Regions from separate parts of the Homo sapiens genome. Here region 2 is linked to region 1. The links are contacts of gene promoters, found by promoter capture Hi-C in blood cells and fetal thymus (Javierre and others, 2016). All regions are on one chromosome and are shown on one strand. Each heading gives the region's core, a stretch centred on a gene start or on the middle of the fragment in contact. The rest is flanking DNA. Distances are from core to core; before and after follow the strand shown. Region 1 overlaps CHD4 (chromodomain helicase DNA binding protein 4). Region 2 holds the start of TNFRSF1A (TNF receptor superfamily member 1A).

What was found. The method cuts DNA at HindIII sites, captures the fragments that hold promoters and counts their contacts. A CHiCAGO score of 5 or more calls a contact.
Region 2: the fragment with the promoter of TNFRSF1A here is called in contact with a fragment that was not itself captured in region 1 in 4 of 17 cell types (naive CD8 T cells, naive CD4 T cells, non-activated CD4 T cells and 1 more); the score reaches 6.9 in naive CD8 T cells.

The regions. Positions count from the first base shown.
Region 1 is chr12:6,593,348-6,599,937 of GRCh38, forward strand. CHD4 (chromodomain helicase DNA binding protein 4) reads right to left here. Exons shown (of 40, transcript NM_001273.5): 10 at 6,426-6,590; 11 at 4,875-5,078; 12 at 4,547-4,752; 13 at 2,659-2,790; 14 at 1,987-2,083; 15 at 1,112-1,303; 16 at 69-269. Among named protein-coding and RNA genes, the nearest start is that of CHD4, 11 kb to the right of the region's middle. RefSeq lists enhancers at 2,844-3,345, 3,346-3,845. The HindIII fragment of the contact is 5,750 bases long and covers 2,027-6,590 here.
Region 2 is chr12:6,337,950-6,344,625 of GRCh38, forward strand. TNFRSF1A (TNF receptor superfamily member 1A) reads right to left here and starts at 4,127. Exons shown (of 10, transcript NM_001065.4): 1 at 3,827-4,127. The coding sequence starts at 3,865. It also overlaps the pseudogene RN7SL391P. RefSeq lists an enhancer at 3,930-4,029. The HindIII fragment of the contact is 11,725 bases long and covers 1-6,676 here.

The sequences.
Region 1 (6,590 bases), core at 3,652-6,151:
CACAAGGAGGTAAACTAAGCCAGAAGCCACAACTCTTTCTCTAGGGTGGCTTCCCTCCCCTGAGATACCTTCATGCGGGAGGCCTTCTTGCCACCACGAATGGCATTGTCTTCAAAGGAGAACTCATTCTCTCGGATGATGGCACGGCTGTCCTTGTCACCCACATAGGTTACGACATACATGTCTGGAGCCCACATTTCAAACTCCCGCTCCCAGTTGATGATGGTAGAAAGAGGGGCGCTCACTAGGAAGGGGCCTTTGGAATGACCCTTTGAGAAAAAAGAGGAGAGTCAGGACTGAGGGCCCCAGCACACTGCAACCCCAGCGAACACCCACCACCCTGCTGCCCCCTCAAGCTGAGCCAAGGACTGACACACCTGCGCTGCTGCTCCTGCTCTCACCTTCCTCTATACAAGTGCCCAGCCCACTCCTTTCCAAAAACCCAAGGTCCCACCATAACTACAAGTCTTACCTCTCCCATTAAGTCTTTATATACTTTTTTTCTGAGACGGAGTTTCACTCTTGTTGCCCAGGCTGGAGTGCAATGGCGCAATCTCAGCTCACTGCAACCTCCACCTCCCGGGTTCAAGCGATTCTCCTGCCTCAGCCTCCCAAGTAGCTGGGATTACAGGCGTGCACCACCACATCCGGCTAATTTTGTATTTTTAGTAGAGACGGGGTTTCGCCATGTTGGTCAGGCTGGTCTCGAACTCCTGACCTCAGGTGATCCACCAACCTCGGGCTTCCAAAGTGCTGGGATTACAGGTATGAGCCACTGCGTCCAGCCAAGCCTTTCCATACTAATTCTACTCATAATTCTACTTCCCTCAACACACAATCATTCCCCTAGAACTGATACTCTATGGATCCACTGCTAATCCTACCCAGGGCTCCATGCCCTCAAATCTTCCGCTGTGTACATGTGTTTATCCACTATCACATTTATCTACTATCTACTAAACACATGTGTACATGTGTTTATCTATTATCCACAGTGTTCTTGAAGGTCAGAGACCAATTTTTTTATTCCCTTATCTCTCTACTCAGTGTAAGTTAAGGCTTCAAACACAAAACACCCACACAAAAAACTATCCACCCCAGATTTCCTTACCTCCTTGTAAAGGGAATACAGGAAGACTGCTGTCTGTACAGTTTTCCCAAGGCCCATCTCATCAGCCAAGATGGTGTCAGTGCCCTGAGCCCAGGAGAAGCGCAACCAATTCAGGCCCTCCATTTGATAGGGGTGCAGGGTTCCACCTGTAGCATCCAGGTACTCTGGCTGTCGCTCATACTTCACTGTTGGCTGAAGGATGAAACAGAGAAGTCAAGAGCTGGCAAGGAACTCCCCTCCTCCCCTAATAGAGCAGCTGCTTCCTCCTCACTAGTCTTCACGGATCCTCTTGGGGAAGAGCTCCGGAAAATTCGGAGGGAAGAGATCCCCTATGATTACTGCAATTTCATGTTCAGTTTAGGGTCCTCCAGGAAACAGGGCTTAACCAGACCTGATTTTGATCCTACAGATCACTGAGGAAAAGCACGTCACAGACTCCCTACCAATACAATAATTCTACTAGTCAGGATCCACCAGGTAAATAATCGTTATGTCCCTCTTAGATTCATCTTTTTAACTTTAATCACCCTCAAATTACACTGTACAAACAAAACCCAGAGGAACTGAGCCTGAATTAAGCCAGATTCCTATGTAAGTGCATAAAAGCTAGGCTATGTGGCCCCTCCCCCCAGACAACACTTCTTCAATCATTCAAAATATACCTCCTTTTTTTTTTTCTGATGACAAAAGAAGAAAGTAATCCTAGTGCTTTCTGATATATAGAGATGTGGAGAAGTGGGGAAGCCGACTTTGTGAAGTAATCTCAGCTACAAAGTTACTATCTGCATTTCATTACTTAAGAGTACCATCATTAGACTGCAGCAAAGATACATTGTCCTACCCAACAAACTACAGTCCCTTCCACCCCCACTCACATCAACTGTTGGCGTTTCTGGAGGCCTCTCCAACTTCCGAAGCTTCACCTTCTTGAGCTTCTTGCCTGGTCGGCCTTCCTCACCCCTCATTAACTCCCTAAAGAAGAAAGACATCACACAGCTGCCCAAAATCCTTTTCTATAGAAGAAACAACTTGGCCAGGCACAGTGGCTCACACCTGTAATCCCAGCATTTTGGGAGGCCAGCACTTTGGGAGGCTGAGACGGGCGGATCACCTGAGGTCAGGAGATCGAGACCAGCCTGGTCAACATGGTGAAACCCCGTCTCTACTAAAAATACAAAAATTAGCTGGGCATGGTGGCAGACGCCTGTAATCTCAGCTACTCGGGAGACTGAGGCAGGAGAATTGCTTGAACCCAGGAGGCGGAGGCTGCAGCGAGCCAAGATCGCACCATTGCACTCCAGCCTGGGGGACAAGAGCAAGACTTCGTCTCAAAAAAAAAAAAAAAAAAAATCAGCTAGGTGTGGTGGCGTATGCAAATAATCCCAGCTACTCAGGAGGCTAAGGCAGGAGAATCGTTTGAACCAGGAAGTCGGAGGTTGCAGTGAGTCAAGATCACGCCACTGCACTACAGCTTGGTGACAGAGCAAGACTCCATCTCAAAAAAAAAAAAAAAGAAACAACTCTATGCCTCACCCAAAATCACTCACCTGTGATTCCAATAGCTCTGCTTGAACAGGTCGTAATCCTGGATCTCCACATCCTCACTCTCCCAAGAAGCCTGATCGTAAGGTAAGTCCCGCCACTTGATCAAGTAGTGGACGTGGCCCTTCTTGTCCACACTGCAAGTCCAGGAGAGAAAACCCTCAGAGCCAGAAAAGGCAACCCTCCTCACTTCCTCTCAAAAACTGGCAATACCGTTTGTTTCACACCAGACCTCTAGGTATGCCACAGATCACACGTTTTCAGAGCCTCTACTGTACCAGTCTCTGACCAAAAATTATCTCTAATTTATACTTTCCTAGAGCTCAAACACCAGAATTCAGTCAGTTAATAATTAACATAGAGTGTTGGCCGGGTGCAGTGGCTCACGCCTGTAATCCCAGCACTTTGGGAAGCTGAGGCAGGCAGATCGCTTGAGGCCAGGAGCTCAAGACCAGCCAGGCCAACATGGCGAAACCCGTCTCTACTAAAAAAAAAAAAAAAAATTAGCCAGGCATCAGGCCGGGCGCGGTGGCTCACGCCTATAATCCCAGCACTTTGGGAGGCCAAGGCAGGCGGATCACCTGAGGTCGGGAGTTCAAGACCAGTCTGGCCAGCATGGAGAAACCCCGTCTCTACTAAAAATGCAAAAATTAGCCGGGCATGGTGGCAGGTGCCTGTAATCCCAGCTACTCGGGAAGCTGAAGCAGGAGAATTGCTTGAACCCGGGCGGCGGAGGTTGCAGCAAGCTGAGATTGCGCCACTGCACTCCAGCCTGGGCGACAGAACGAGACTCCATTTCAAAAAAAAAAATTAGGCAGGCGTGGTGGCACACGCCTGTAATCCCAGCTACTCTGGAGGCTGAGGCAGAGAATCACTTGAGCCTGAGAGGCGGAGGTTGCAGTGAGCTTAGATCATACCACTGCACTCCAGGCTGGGCCACAGAGCAAGACTCTGTCTCAAAAAATATAATAAATAAATAAATAAATAGGCCGAGTGCGGCGGCTCACGCCTGTAATCCCAGCACTTTGGAAGGAGGAGGTGAGCGGATCACAAGGTCAGGCGATCAAGACCATCCTGGCTAACACAGTGAAATCCCGTCTCTACTAAAAATACAAAAAAAAAAAAATTAGCCAGGCATGGTGGCGATGGCCTGTAGTCCCAGCTACTCGGGAGGCTGAGGCAGGAAAATGGCGTGAACCCAGGAGGCAGAGCTTGCAGTGAGCCAAGATCACGCCACTGCACTCCAGCCTGGGTGACAAGTCTGTCTCAAAAAAAAACAATAATAATAAAATAAATAAATAAAGATAATAACATGAAGTGTCAGGCGCAGTAGCTCACGCCTGTAATCCTAACACTTTGGGAAGCTGAAGCAGACAGATTGCTTGAGCCCAGGAGTTTGGGACAGCTATGAGCAGTGATCACGACACTGCACTCAAGCCTGGGCAACACAGCTAAAATTTGTCTCAAAATAAATATATAAGGCTGAGCGTGGTGGCTCACGCCTGTTAATCCTAGCACTTAGGGAGGCCAAGGCAGGCAGATCACCTGAGGTCAGGAGTTCAAGACCAGCCTGGCCAGCAGAATGAAAACCCTGTCTCTACTAAAAATACAAAAAATTAGCTGGGCATGGTGGCTTGCGCCTGTAGTCCCAGCTTCTCAGGAGGCTGAGGCAGGATAATCACTTGAATCTGGGAGGCAGAGGTTGCAGTGAGCCGAGATCACGCCACTGCACTCCAGCCTGGGCACAGAGTGAGACTCTGTCTCAAAAACAAAAAACAAACAAAAAAAACCAGTGTCTTCCAAGTCTAAGTTACTGGTGACAGCCATTTTCCCAATCTCTTTAGCAGGACTCTCCCACGGAGACTGCCCGTCTCCCGTGTGCTCAGCTGGTACCTGTGGTTGAGGATTCGGTGGATCATCATCCACTCGGGTTTTATCCCATAGCGATAGAAGCGTTCCTCCATCTCTGCAAATTTAGGGTCCTTGTTCTTTCGCTTTCGGCTTTTCTCTTCATCACCACCAAAGTCCCCAGAAGGTGGCTCATCCATATCATTCTTCCGCTGATAGTTTCGGAACATCACCTGACAGTGCAGCTCCAGCTTTGAGCGGAAAGAGAAAATCAGCCACCAAGAAGCTGTGTTCATTCCTTCTATCCACAAGGCTCTTTTGTCACTATCCTCTTCATCGTAGCCCCTACATCTCCAGACTATCCTAAACTTACCTGCAGTTCAGAAACCCAGGAGCAGTGCCAGTAAGACATGCCTTGCCATTTCACAAAGAACTGCCGCTCTGGCCGCCCCTCCAAGGGCTTTGGGGAGGGCGTGTTGGGATCAGCATCTGGAGGCCGAGGCACTGGTGTGGGAGATGGTGGCTGACCCCACTTCCAGATTAGGATCTTCTGCACTTTGCCCTTCAGAGCTGGACACTGAGAGAAAAAGAGACAACTTAATCTCAAATCATAACCATGGGAGGAGAAGGGACAGCCCACAGTCTCAACTTCATCAAAGGACGATTCAGATCTCATTTCAGACCTGGAGCAGTGGCTCATGCCTGAAATCCCAGCACCTTGGGAGGCCGAGGCGGGCAGATCACGAGGTCAAGAGATCGAGACCATCCTAGCTAACATGGTGAAACCCCGTCTCTACTAAAAATACAAAAATTAGCTGGGCGTGGTGGCATGCGCCTGTAGTCCCAGCTACTTGGGAGTCTGAGGCAGGAGAATCACTTGAACCTGGGAGGCAGAGCTTGCAGTGAGCCAAGATTGCCCCACTGCACTCCAGCCTGGGGGACAGAGCAAGACTCCATCTCAAAAAAATAAAAAAAGATCTCATTTCAAATAAAATCTAATCCCAGGACTCCTCCAGGGAGAAAATACAGGTTGAGGACCCCTCATGTGAAATGCTTGGGACCAGAAGTATTTTGGATTTCACATTTTTGGATTAGGGTGCTCAACCTGTAATAGAATTCCCTCTCCATTTCTGGACATCGTCCAGGATTTGCGTGCCACCATCACTCCTATCTGCTTAACAGAGCCAGTAGTTAGACTTTAACAATAAGCCAGAACAATCAGGAAATCAACAGACTTAGAGCACAGAATTCCTCCCTTAAGCAATCTAAAGCAGTAAGTGGCCCTATTAAACATTCTAAACTGGCTGGCATGGTGGTAAACACCTGTAATGCCAGCACTTAATGAGGACAAGGGAGCAGAATGGTTTCAGACCAGGAATTCAAGACCAGCCTGGGCAACATAGTGAGACCCTGTCTCAACAGAGATTTTTTTTTTTTAATTAGCTGGATGTGGTGGCATGCACCAGTACTCCTAGCTACTCAGCAAGAGGTTGAGATAGGAGGATCACTTGAGCCCAAGAGTTGGAGGCTGCAATGAGCTATGACTGCACCACTGCACTCTAGCCCGGATGACAGAATGAGACCCTGTCTCCAAAAAAAAAAATTTTTTTAACAAAAAAATTGAAAACATTGTAAGCTACCAAGACCCTGAGGCAGGGTGTCAACACAGGGACAAATGTTCTCAGCTAGAAGAACATTGCTTCATCTCCTCTTAAGAGAGCTGGCAAAACATCAACTCCTCAGTTTGAAGTTAGTCCTATATTTTCCCAGGACAAAAGTATCCCAACACTATAGGATGAAGGAGAATACCTTTCTCAGGGCTGAAAAGCTCATAGTTCCTCTCCTGCACCCCAGCCTCACAATAGCCTACATAGAAAAGACTACACTTTCCCATTTTTTGCCCCGGCTGAGATCAGTCACTCACCGTACAACGGGGACAGAGCCATTCACCGTTGGGGATCTCTGGAAGTGGGGGATTCAGGCAGTGGATGTGGTAGGAAGAAGGACAGGTATCACAGCAGAGCAGTTCCCCACCATCCTTGCAGACCCGACAGAATTCCATATGGTGGTCATCCTCCTCTTCGAGGTC
Region 2 (6,676 bases), core at 2,877-5,376, 260 kb before region 1:
ACCCCTGGTAGGAATATATTTATCTCCGGGGGAGAGTTTTCAGACCATCCCCCCACCTCCCCACACACAAGCACACACACCCTTACTTAAGAGTCTGGTGTGCTCCTCTCCTTTTGAGAACCACTGATGAGTGAACACAGTGTGTCTGAATGATACAAAGGCAGAAAGAAGTTGCAGCACCTCTCCTCCAGCTTGGTAGGCGCACCCTTCCACATGACCATTTCCCTGACCCTTAACATGCCCCAGACGGAATTCATCCATCTCCTCACCTAGACAAATGACACACCATCGACTTCCCGGACGAATGCTGAGAACTTGCCACGCTCTCTCCCCAGGGCCCCATCCCTATCCCTGCCGCCATCCCATGTGTCAGTTCATCTTGCGAGGCCTCCCCCTGTGATCTCTCGGTCCTCTCCGCATTCCTGGGTTGCCTCACACCTGGGTTATTGCAAGTGTCTTCTAGCCTCTCTCCTGCTCCCATCCGTCCTACACACTTTTTAAATCTTCATTCAGGCTTTAACTTGCACGCACAAGTGTGTGAACCTTCCTCTCCATCTCCAGGGCCTGGCTCCAAACAGCATTTCCATGGTCATGGAAATGATCTGAAGACTTCCACAGATGCCTCACTACTTTTTTTTTTTTTTTTTTGAAACAGGGTCTCACTCTGTCACCCAGGGTGAAGTGCAGTGGCACAATCATAGCTCACTGCAACCTTCACCACCAGGACGGAATGTAGTGGTGTGGTCAGGGCTCACTACAACCTCCACCTCCTGGGCCCAAGCCGTCCTCCCGAGCTCAGTCTCCCGAATAGCTGGGATGACAAGCACGCCCCACCATGCCCCGCTAATCTTTGTATTTTTTGTAGAGACAGGGTTTTGCTGTGTTGCCCAGGCTGGTCTCGAACTCCTGGACTCAAGCAATCCACACACCTCGGCCTCCTGAAGTGCTGGAATTACAGGCATGAACCACAGCACCCATCTGAGATGCCTCACCTCACTTCTAATCACAGTCTGGGCACAGAATGTGCCCTAGGAGAACAGCTTCTGAATAAACGAATGAATGAATTCCTCCACCTGGAACCATATTCAACACTCTTCCTCCATCCTCTCCCCCACTCCCTCTAATTCTCCCATTCACATTTCTTAGTGTTTCTCAACATGGTTTTTCCACTCCCGAACCAAGGTGTCTGGCTTCCTGCCACCCTGCCCATCAACACAAAATCCCATCTCTCCATTCCTCTCCTCTTCCTCACATCAGTATCCAACTCTGCTTCCCTCCTTTATAGCTACCCTGACAGGCAGTGACTTCAGATGTCAGCTCCACATCCACTTTTCTATGAGGCTTTCCCTCCGCCATCCCATCTGACACATCTCTTGTTCCTTAATTCCTTCAGCAAATAGTTAAGGGGCACAGTTAATGTGACAGGTCCCGTATGGGTGCTAGGGATGCTGAGGTGGATAATACACAGCTCGTGCTCTCAAGAGCTCTCACTTGAGTCAAAGACAGTCAGTTGTAGGCACTGAGATCTATACAGGGAGTGCTGCAGTTGCACAGTGAAGGACACTGAAGCAGCGTGGGGAAGCTCCTGAATTTTCTGGAGCTGAGCGCAGGAGCTGAGACCTGCTAAGCAAGGAAAGGCAGTGGACTAAGGCTCACCTCCTTCCCCAGTTCCTCCTCCTCCCAACTGGTGCTCCAGGACACCACATCACAATGCATTTGTGGATATTTTCCTCGGGATTGCTCTGAAATCATTTTTCACTGTAAGCCATCTTGGTTACTAGGCTGTAAGCTCTTTGAGAGCAGCAAAATCCTGTTTGCTTTGCCACAGTCTCTCCTGTATCATTCTTCCCTACTCCCCTACCCCACTTCTCTCTCTCTCTCTCTCTCTCTCTCACACACACACACACACACACACACACACACACACTGTGAGCTCTGCATTGCCCACTGAATGGTGAGAAATTCAGAAGGATGTTGCATTCCCTTTGTTTTCCCTTTCCTCCAGCTCCAGGCCAGGCTTCTGTCCCTTAGGAGACATAATCCCACCTGGGCTGAAGCACCCCAGGACGCAGGCACTTCCCTTTACCTGTTCAGGCTACCTTTACCCTCTGTTTTCCCAACACAGGTAGCCACCCAGTAATTACTACTAGTCACAGCAATATAAAAACTTTATTGAGTGCTTTCTATTTGCTACAACCTATTCCCCTGATGGACTGTCAAAGCTGTGGGCAGGGATTTTGTTCTCTGCTGTAATCCCAGCACCTATCACAGTGTCTAGCCCAGAGCGCACACTTAATAAATCAAATGAACACTTAACATGTATCAGTCTATTCAATCTTCAAAACAACAGTATGAGGTCAAGACTGTGACACCCATTTTGGAGATAAAGAAACGAAGGCATGGAAGGTTAGGTTATATAAGCTGCTCTTGTTCATGCAGGAGGTATGTGAGGGAGCCAGGGGCCGCCCCCAAACAGAAAACAGAAGCAGGATGTCAGGGCAGCTGGCTGGTGGGGAGACCGTGGGGGAAGGACAGTGGGAAGAAGGGAAGAGCGGGTGGGACTAAGGAGGCAGGAGGAGGCAGAAGAAGAAGAGTGAGACCCTGACCAGAGACGTGCTGCCTGGGGACCTGGGGCCGGGACCAGAGCGGAGCAGAGAGGAGGGGAAGGAGGATTAGCGAGAAAAGATTTCAAAAAAAGAGGCTCTGAGAAGTCTGAGGAGAGTCTGGGGAGATTGCTGGAAGAAAGGAATGGTAGGAGAGGAAGAGTATAAGGCACTAAAGAGAGGGGAGGTAGGCGCAGCCTTCAGAGGCCGGGCAGGGCAGGGAAAATCTGCCTGACTAGATGGGCCCAGGACATCTGAACAGGATGATTCCCGGACCAAGACGTGGAGGACGATCAAGGATACATTGAAACAAGGCTGAGGCCAGAGAAAGGGACATTTTCCAGTGACGAAAACAACTTTCTACCAACTTCCCCAAACTGAACTGTAGAATAAGAAACCAAGGGATTGTTGTTTAGGTCTGTGAGAAGCAGCGGGGAGGGGAAGCTGGAGGACAGGCCCAGGGACACTGACCAGGTGGGGGTAGGACTAGCTCCCTGGGAAGGCTCAGTCCCACAGCGGCTACCTGCCTAGCAGCAGGCAAAAGGGTAAAGAATGTCCCCAGGTGAGAGGCCGGGGCTTGGCCAGGGCACTGGGGACACTGTCCACTGGGTTGCCCTGCCCCATCCAGTGTCCCAGCCCATTCTCAAATACCTCCCACCATGAGCATCCCAAACCCACCACACCAGCCCATCCCCACTCCTCAACTCACTCCCCCACTTCACCAGCCGCCAAAATCCTGCCCTACAGGGTGTGCTCCACCAAGTTCCACAGGCAGCCTCGCCTCCCCACGGCCCAACACCCTCCAGGCCAGCCAGCTGACCGGAGGGACAGAATTCAGAACCGTCTGGACTCCCCGAGCACTAATCTTCCTACTCCCACTCCCTTCTTTTCCCCGCCAAATCTGCCCCACCCTGGGCCTATCTCCTGCCCACATTCCCTTGGCCGCCCACAAACTTCCACCGCTGTCAGGGGCCAGGGCTTCCTTTTACTCTCTCCCTTTCAAACTTCTCCCATTCCCCTGCCTCAGCGCAGCCCCTACTCCAAAAGGCGGATGAATGGGGAACCCCACACTGGCAGTGGCTGAGGTTAGGACCTGCAGGCCTGAGGCTGGCGCCAGGACCAGGCCCGGGCAGGAGAGGCTCGGCCCCCTCCCGGAGAGGGCCCACGCCAGCCGGAAGGTGCCTCGCCCACCAGCCCACTCTTCCCTTTGTCCCTGGTCTCACCAGTGGCAGCAGCAGGTCAGGCACGGTGGAGAGGCCCATGCCAGACAGCTATGGCCTCTCACTCCCCCATTTGGGCTCAGGGCAGTGTGGCAGCGGCAGTGCTGGGGCTTCCCGGGACTCGGTCTGTCCAGGACGTCCCAAGTGCCTTGGGGTGACAGTTGAGGGTTGAGACTCGGGCATAGAGATCACGGCCTGGTCCCAGTGATCTTGAACCCCAAAGGCCAGAACTGGAGCCTCAGTCCAGAGAATTCTGAGAAAATTAAAGCAGAGAGGAGGGGAGAGAAGGTGGGAGGGGAAGAGTGAGGCAGTGTTGCAACAGCGGGACAGGAAGAGCTGGAGGAGGAGGCCACAGGAGGCGGGAGGAGGAGGCCCAACGTTCTTTAACTCTTTGTAGTCCAGTCACAAGCACAGGAGTCCCAGATCTGGCTGCCTTGTGCCCCCAACCCACCAATCCGACCACTCCCAACCAAACACCAAGGGGCAATAAGCCCCTTGCCCACATCACTAGCCTTTCCCAGATGGATCACAGCAGTGAAAAGATCCAGAGTCTGGGAGTCAAATTCTCTGGGTTCCAATTCAGAATGCTTAGCTTTTTAGCTAAGAATGTGTCTTGGACACATAAATGAACTTCTCAGACACATAACTGAAACTGTCTGGATCTGTTTTCCAATTTGCAGAGTGGAGATAACCTGTCTCCTGGGGTTCCTGTAAGGATTTGTTCAGATGGGAGAGATATAGATAAGCGTCCGACACATGATAGGTACTCCATGTCCCTTAGTAATCCTCCCCTTTACTCCAGAGTTCTTCACTAGCCTCCTAGTCTCCCTCTTTCTTGGGAATTTACTGATCCAATCCAAAACTCAAAGTAAGTCCCAACCCTCGTTTTCTGCCCTGACTGGGTGCCTGCCATTCCTCACCCCAGGTCTCATCCAGTCTCTGCCTGGCCAGGTCCCCCCACCCTGCCCCACTGTTGATCCTGGCTCTGCCACCAATCATGCGACATCAGGCAACTCCTCTCCTAAGCCTCTGTTGGTTCCTTGTTTATTAAACAGGGGTAACAATGTCTGCCCACCTACATGGGGAAAGTGATGCCATGAGAATCAATGAGACGTATCCACGAAGCTGCCGTGGAAATAAAGATACCTCCATCAGGTGTTCCTAGCATATTCCCAGTGCCCTTTTCCTAAATATTCCAATACATCAATTATAACTCACCTTACAGATCATCGACTACAACCCCCTAGGTTTTTTTATTTCTTCGTTTGCTTGTTTTTCATTTTTGTTTTTGTTTTGAGGGTCCGCTCCGTTTCCCAGGCTGGAGTGCAGTGGTACCATCGCAGCTCACTGCAGCCTCGACCTCCCAGGTTCAAGTAATCCTCCCACCTCAGCCTCCCAAGCAGCTGGGACTATAGGTGCATACCACCACGCCTGGGTAATTTTTGTATTTTTTGTAGAGACAGGGTCTCACCATGTTACACAGGCAGGTCTTGAACTCCTGGGCCCAAATGATCTGCCCACCTCAGCCTCCTAAAGTGCTAGGATTACAGGTGTGAGCCACCGTGCCCACCCAACTGCCCGGTTTTATAGAGGAGAAAACTGAGGTCCAGAAACCCAATGTGCCAGGAGGCAGAGCCAACAGAGAACCCCAGACTCCCGACTGCCGGTCCAAGGGCCCCTTTGGCTATGAGAGACACACTGCCACTTTTTCTGTCACTGAGTCAGACCCCACATCCTGACTCTGGTTACTTTATGCCATCCTCATTGATGCAGACATCTCCCAAGAGAATCCTACAACAAAGGTACCACATTTACCCAACTATCTTCTTGGTACAATGACCTTCCCTACATCCAGCCCCGCCCAAGGGCCTGCAGCTGCTGAGGCTGCTAGAAATGCAGGCAGACAGAGAAGAGGGAGGTCCTAGGGCTTTGGAACTTGAAACCAGAGCTCCTCACCCCTTATCCCTCTGAGATGACCTCCCAGCCCCAAGTCCACCGTCCCCTGGCTCTTCCTGGCTTCCCCTCTGTGATCCGCAGATGAGAATGGAGCTTCAGTGTCCCTCACTGCGGGGGGAGCTGACTTTACTCCACCCCATCGTCCAGCTTCTGGAGAACTGTAGGGTTGAAGCTGGATTCAGAAAGGAAGCAGCTCACCACCATCACAAAGGGAGACCCCAGGGACAGGAGAAGCGAACCCAAAGCAGTGTTCTTGAAGAAGCAGGAGCCTCAGAATCAAGTGCAAGTTTCCAGTATGAAGCAGCGAGAAGAACCTCGGTCTGCTCATCTAAAAAATGGGAAACCTGCTGGTACCCTTCACAGAGCTAGCTTGATGCTTAAATCAAGCATATAAAGTGTTTGGCAAGTGTTTGCCATATATTAAGCATTTAGTAAGTGGTAGCAATTAATTTTTTTTTTGAAACAGGAGCTTGCTCTCACCCAGGCTAAAGTGCAATGGTGCAATCATAGCTCACCTAACCTAGAACTACTGGCCTCAAGCTAGCCTCCCACATCAGCCTTCCGAGTGGCTAAGACTACCATCGCACACCACTATGCCCAGCTAGTTGTATTAATGATTAATAACAACTTCAGAAGGATAAGTGATACAGGGGAGTATGGTATGTGAGAGGGCGGCAAAAAAAAAAAAAAAAAGCAGAGTGCGGTGGCTCACGCCTGCAATCCCAGCACTTTGGGAGGCTGAGGTGGGCGGATCACAAGGTCAGGAGTTCGAGACCAACCTGACCAACATGGTGAAACCCTGTCTCTACTAAATATACAAAATTAGCCAGGCGTGGTGGCGCGTGCCTGTAATCCCAGCTACTCAGGAGGCTGAGGCAGGAGAATTGCTTGAACCCA